Regions from separate parts of the Homo sapiens genome. Here region 1 is linked to region 2. Evidence: promoter capture Hi-C in human tissues and cell types (Jung and others, 2019). All regions are on one chromosome and are shown on one strand. The core of a region is centred on a gene start or on the middle of the fragment in contact, and the rest is flanking DNA. Distances in the headings are between cores, read along the strand shown.

What was found. Contacts are between HindIII fragments. The study calls those that stand out against the background at their distance.
Region 1: a contact is called between the fragment with the promoter of MZF1 here and the fragment with the promoter of ZNF671 in region 2, in 1 of the 25 tissues and cell types used here (lymphoblastoid cells).

What each region holds. Positions count from the first base shown.
Region 1 is chr19:58,571,464-58,574,750 of GRCh38, reverse strand. It overlaps MZF1 (myeloid zinc finger 1), which reads left to right and starts at 1,416. Exons shown (of 6, transcript NM_198055.2): 1 at 1,416-1,696. It overlaps MZF1-AS1 (MZF1 antisense RNA 1), which reads right to left. Exons shown (of 6, transcript NR_027334.2): 4 at 2,796-2,893; 5 at 1,928-2,173; 6 at 1-1,834. RefSeq lists enhancers at 1,042-1,471, 1,532-1,621, 990-1,849, 1,850-2,711. The HindIII fragment of the contact is 16,370 bases long and covers 1-3,287 here.
Region 2 is chr19:57,726,307-57,729,656 of GRCh38, reverse strand. ZNF671 (zinc finger protein 671) reads left to right here and starts at 2,033. Exons shown (of 4, transcript NM_024833.3): 1 at 2,033-2,266. The coding sequence starts at 2,129. RefSeq lists enhancers at 1,687-1,736, 1,877-2,316, 1,834-2,334 and a silencer at 1,655-1,880. The HindIII fragment of the contact is 7,784 bases long and covers 885-3,350 here.

The sequences.
Region 1 (3,287 bases), core at 167-2,666, 850 kb before region 2:
GATGATTCTAGGAAGACAGGAAAGGAAGAATAAACACTGGCCGGCCGCGGTGGCTCACACCTGTAATTCCAGCAATTTGGGAGGCCGAGGTGGGCGGATCACCAGAGGTCTGGAGGTCAAGACCAGTCTGGCCAACATGGTAAAACCCCATCTCTACTAAAAATACAAAAATCAGCCGGGTGTGGTGGAGCAGCCTGCAGTCCCAGCTACTCGGGAGGCTGAGGCAGGAGAATCGCTTGAACCTGGGAGACGGAGGTTGCAGTGAGCCGAGATCGTGCCACTGCACTCCAGTCTGGCAACAGCGAGACTCCGTCAAAAAAAAAAAAAAAAAAAAGAAAGAAAGAAAAAGAAAAACACTGAAATAAAAGCACAAAGTTGGATACAAAACTGCTTAGTGAGCTACAAAGCGATACACTGGACAGAAAGCATTTGCAACCTATCAACCTGTACAGGGTAGCATATAACTGGACAGCATCTGGACTCCTAAGTTTTCCTAACAGTTTTACCTCGGATTCTCCCTGTCTCTCTTCGTGCTGTCATCTTTCTCTAGGTCTTCGAAAACTGTCAATCCATCTTACTGTATCTCTAATTTCTGTCCCTTTTCTCCCTTCTTGTTTCTGTCCCTCTCCCTTCTTGTCTACCTCTTGAGTCTGGATATCTGCATTTCTTGTCTCTGTGAACCCATTCTGCGTTTCCTTCTTTGTGTCTCTTTCATCTGCATCCCTTTCTGATCTGCCTCTCTCTTGCTAACTGTTCTGACACCTGTTTGCCCGGCCCTGACCCTCTGATCCACTCAGCCCTCTTATAACTTGGACCCGTGTCTCTATGTTTGTTCACTTATTTTCACTGTCTCTCCTCGCGTCGAGTCTCCGGTCCTCCCAGTCTGTGAGTCTGTCTCTCTGTCTCTCTCTCTCTTCCTCCCGCCGGTCCTTCGTCTCTCTTTGCCCTTGAGTCTCTGGTCTCTCTCCGTCTCTCCTCGCTGTTTCTATCGATCGGCATCTCTCTGCCCCAGTACCCTTCCCCACCTCTTCATCCCACATGCCCCATTGCATTTTCAACGCCCGCCGCGTCTCCGGGTTACCCAGGCGATGTCGAGTCGTGTCCCCAGGTTACCATGGAGACGTTCAGGGCCCGCCCCTCGCCCATGATCACAGAGGAACGTCATCGCGCCGCGCGCGCACGTACACACGAAGGGCCTGCTGACTACATCTGCCGGAAAGCATCGGGCCAAGCCTTTCTCCATTTTGCGGTCTAGGAAGTAGCAGAGGCCCCTTCCTGTAGGGAGTTGCCATGGAGACGCGGTGGGGCACCGACGGAGTTCTAATGACGGCCGTGATTGGTGCAGGATCCTGCTAATCTCAGGAAGGCCCGTAGAGAAGTGAGGAAAACGTGGTGGGGGGCATGCGCGATCTGGTAGGCGGTGCTGCCGTCTGTTGTACCTGAGAGGCTTGCGCATGCCGACGCACGGATTCGAGGCGGGGAGCATGGGAAGAAGCGGCCAGGAGTATGACCTGATCATTGCGACCACCGCTAGGGGAAGGGAGGAGAGGGTGTAGAAACGGGGACGAGGGTGGGGGAAGGGCAAGGAGGCGCTCGAGCTGGTGCGCGGAGCATCCTGGGAGACGTAGTCCAGCGGGAGGGGGAAGTCGAAGACTGCGCGTGCTCAGGAGCGCGGAGCGGCCCGCTGAGCGCAGAGGTGAGGGCGGGGTCCTCTTAACCGGGAGGGCTATCGTGTGGACGGGGGCGGTGGCTGCAGACTCGGGGATTCCGGCTCCCCAGTGAGACCGGAAGCGCGGGGAACGAATCCGGGCAGTCCTTGCGGGAGCGCCCAGGGCTAGAGCGAGAGGCTTGTCAATCACTACTCGTTGCCACGACGACAGGCTTTGGGAGCCCCGCCCCCGGTTGCCTAGGCGTCGTCTGGACCTACCTTGGCACCCTGGAGCGGAAGTTGCCGCCTGGACTTCTGGGAAGTGTATTTCGGGACCCTCCGTAGGTACCTGCCATCTTGGCTATGACCCAAGTCTCTCCCAGGGTTTCAGGTTGACTTGGCACCTTGAAGAGTGGAGGCTTGGCCCCCAGGATGAGGCGGCCCTCGAAATCGATGCCACCCACGGGGGAATGATTCTGCGGTGCCATCCCCTTCATAAACGCAGATTCCTTCCTAAAGCCGCAGCTGCAGAAGGAACAGCGCGAGGAGGGAGGTCAGCCCCACTTGCAAATGGGGAAACAAGTTCTCGAAGGCACAGTGATCTGAAGATGGGCGGAATCAGAGTCTCGGGACTTCCTTGCAGGCTCCTGTTCCGGCAGTCTTGGAGCCTTTGCCGCCCCCCCACCCATTGCGAAGCTCCCCCATCCCCTTCCAACCCCAGCTAAATCAGGAAGCTGAGATGGGGCATTGCGTAGTGTGATGTTGGGCTTAGAAGATGGGGCTGAGTAGGGAGAGAGGGTGCTGCCTGGGAGCTGAGCCATACAAGTGACTGCACAGGTTGACATGGAGGATTAGGTGGAGTGAGGCTTCCAAGCAGGGAGGGGAATGATGGTGGGGCCCAAATGAGGAGCCACATCGAAGTAGATGAGAGAATAGAAGGTGAAGTAAGGGCTGGCGTTGGGTAGGGGGAGACGCCAGCAGTGATGCTGATGCCCAGGCTGTAGGTGTATAGGTGCCATCCACCTGGTAAAGAGAGAGCTGTAGCGCAGGAATGAGGTTGCACATGTAGAAGAAGGGAAGGATACAGGGGAGAGAAGTGTCTTCTAGTCCTAAAAAACAGCCTGTGGGCTGGCATGGTGGAACAAACCTGTAAGTCCCAGCACTTCGGGAGGTCAAGGTAAGAGGATCATCTGCTTGAGCCCAGGAGTTCAAGAACAGCCTAGGCAACATAGTAAGATCCCATCCCTACAGAAAAATTAAGAAATTAGCCGGATGTCGTGGCACACACCTGTTGTCTCAGCTACTTGGGAGGCCGATCTCTGGAGCCCGGGAGGTCAAGTCTGCAGTGACGCATGATCTCGCCACTGCACTTCAGCCTGGGCAACTGACTGACAGCATGTCTCAAAGAAAAGAAAAAAAAGCCTGTGTTTGGAGCAGGGAGACTGTCAGAGACTTTGCACAGGCCCAAGCGGAGAGAAGACCAGGGATACAGGTGGCTAAGGGAGGGCTTCCAGCTGCATAAGTCTGTGGGTTGTAGATGGCCTTTCTTTGCCTGTTTCCTCATCTGCCTTCCACATGGGGTAGGTCTGAGGATCAAACGGTACAGCATAGACTAGGCAGTGAAGCATTCACTGTACTC
Region 2 (3,350 bases), core at 784-3,283:
GTTGGTTTAAAGTCTGTTTTATCCGAGAGTAGTATTGCAACCCCTGCCTTTTTTTGTTTTCCATTTGCTTGGTAGATCTTCCTCCATCCCTTTATTTTGAGCCTATGTGTGTCTCTGCATGTGAGATGGGTTTCCTGAATACAGCACACAGATGGGTCTTGACTGTTTATCCAATTTGCCAGTCTGTGCCTTTTAATTGGAGCATTGAGCCCATTTACATTTAAGGTTAGTATTGTTATGTGTGAATTTGATCCTGTCATTATGATGTTAGCTGGTTATTTTGCTCATTAGTTGATGCAGTTTCTTCCTAGCCTTGATGGTCTTTACAATTTGGCATGTTTTTGCAGTGGCTGGTACCAGTTGTTCCTTTCCATGTTTAGTGCTTCCTTCAGGAGCTCTTTTAGGGCAGGCCTGGTGGTGACAAAATCTCTCAGCATTTGCTTGTCTGTAAAGTATTTTATTTCTCCTTCACTTATGAAGCTTAGTTTGGCTGGATATGAAATTCCGGGTTGAAAATTCTTTTCTTTAAGACTGTTGCCTTCTTTAGAATATTTATTTAGGGTATTGTGACAAAGTCAAAAGGTGATGCAGGACAAAAATCATTATATGCAGGACATGTCCTGTATGTATAGGAATCTTGGAAATTTTATTAGTGATGTCTTTCATGCTACTAACACATTTGAAAAACACCTACTGAGAGCTCGTATGTGTTCCTTGGATGTGTATTTTAACAGTGAATTATCAAGACAGCACAACTTCACTGTTGATTTTTACCATTCTGATATCTTCTTTACAATTGCTCAGCATTTTCAGGAAAAAAGAGTCACATTTTGTTGACAAAGTGTGGTCAAGATCACAACACAACCATATGCTTAACTTCATTCTTTCACTTATACTTTAGTATTCAGGCTCAAACTTTACTGAGATCTTAACTTTGTCCATCTATCACAGATATTTCCTTAGAGCAATTTCTTTCATTATCTTCAAATAACTACGGAATCATTATTAATAGCTGTCAGGATTTTTCCCCCGGGGATAATCTCACCTCCTAACACAGACACCATACTTACAATGACAATGACAGGTTAAATGGTAATTGCACTGTGTTTTGCTGTGATGGAGACATCACTGATTACCCAGGCAGGAAGAGTTTTCTGAAGAAATCTGTCCACTGGTTTCAGGGAGACTCCACATCATCCCTCTTCCTTCTTCCACTCCAAGGCCTTGTTTGGAATATTTTCTCTTCCGTCTCTGACCAAACTGAAGCTCACAAAAGTTACTGTAAAGCTTGAGTGCACACATATTTAAAAAGCAACAAGGTAATAGTTATTAGCTTCTAGCTGTGAGTGTACGCAAAGAGACATTGTGGTGTGGTGTATCTATTTAGTTTTGCAGCTTTGGGGAACATCTGAAATGTCTCAACATTTCTGCGATCGGTGCATACTACACTCCAGGGAATCTAGGTCCAGGCCTTTTAAGAGGACAGAAGTCAGCCGGGCACCATGGCTCACTCCTGTAATCCCAGCACTTTGGGAGGCCGAAGCAGGCAAATCACAAAGTCAGGAGTTCGAGACCAGCCTGGCCAACATGGTGAAATCCCGTACTCTGCTAAAAGTACTAAAATTAGCCTGGCGTGGTGGCGGGCCCCTGTAGTCCCAATTACTTGGGAGGCTGAGGCAGGAGAATCGCTTGAACCCGGGAGGCGGAGGTTGCAGTCAGCCGAGATCGCGCCACTGCACTGCAGCCTGGGAGACAGAGCGAGACTCTGTCTCAAAAAAAAAAAAAAAAAAAAAAAAGAGGACGGAAGTCCTGTCAGCCCTTTGAAACTCGGGTTACTTTTCCCAAACAACTTGGCCCTCCTACTTCGAGTTTTCCCAAGAGCCCAGGCCGAGAATCCCCTGCCTTGAAGGATAGCTCAGTGGGAACCACACTCTACCCACAAACCTATACGTTGCATACCCAATGAGGGCCCAGGAGAGGGGTGTTTCAGTGCCTGCGGGGGGTGCGTGGGCGGGACTTCCGGCTCCTCCTTGTAGCGGACATTTTGTTTCTGTCAGGCTGTCCCTGGCCGGGGTTCTGTAACGCTTGTGTGGGCCGCAGGTGGAGGTGTTGGGAAAGCGCGGAGGAGATGTTGTCCCCAGTGTCCCGAGACGCGTCTGATGCTCTGCAGGGACGGAAGTGCCTGCGTCCCCGATCGAGACGCCTGCCGCTCCCGGCAGCTGTCCGCGCCCACGGTCCTATGGCGGAGCTAACGGACTCCGCGCGGGTGGGTGCTGCGTCCTCCGGGCCCTCAGTCACCCTTTCTCCGACTCCGAATCGTAAAGTGCCTGCAGCCCCTGTGTCCCAGGACAGCGACGCACTCTTGGGGCGGGGTCCTATCTCGGTGTGGGTGGGTGTGGGAGAGTTACGGGCGGAGGGGACGGCGCAGGTAAAGGCTCGGGGGTGCTGCTGACCCCCAAACATTTGGGAGACAGGGTTCTCATCAACACAGAGCAGAGTTTGAGGAACTGTGACTGGAATGGCAGGCTGAGAAGTTGTCGCTTCATTCTGAGGGCGTTGAGATTAACTGAGGGTTTTGAATAGAAGGACGTGATCTTAGCTGGGATTTTAAGTGTCTCGAAATTTGCTCAGGGGAGAACATTAGTTTGGGGTGGGGACTGCGAGGATGGATACGAGGAGACCGGTAAGGAGGCTACTGCAGTGGATTCCAGGAATGCTTTGGTGGTGGATGTACCAAGAGTAATGGCAGGTGAGTGGGTAGAAGTGATCATATTCTGGGTAGGTTTTAAATTTGAAACCAACAGGATTTTCTGCTCCATCATATGCAGCTATGACTGAAAGTAAGGCATGAAAGAGCAAGGTGTTTTTGTTGTTTTTCCATGAACGTTTGGATTTTGGAATGGTGACTTTGAGATGTCTCAGAGTGGAGGCTTCCTCACTTAGGCAACTAGAGAGGAAGGTCTGAAGTTGTGGGGAAGGGGCTGGGCTTAGAATATCTTTGGGGTGAAGGGAGCGGTCTGGAGTAGGTCAAGGCCAGGAGGTCAGATTTAAGTGGGGCAGTCTTAAGTATGTTATTTCATATCTCTGGGGTAAGAGATGAGAAGGCTGGGACTGCAGGGCAGGGAAGAGGGAGTGGGCATTCTTGAGACTCCCCCCAGAAGAGAAGGGTCCTGCCATTTGAAAGGGTTCTTTTCAGTGTTTGCAGGAGGAGAGAGCTGTAGGGTATGAGGAGTTTGGCCTGGGATGGCAACGATGGGTGGTGTGCTATTGCTACTATCTGATTATCTCACCCTCATTTTGTGTGTTTTCTTTTAGTTTTAGTTTATTTATTTTTTTTATTTTTTTTGAGA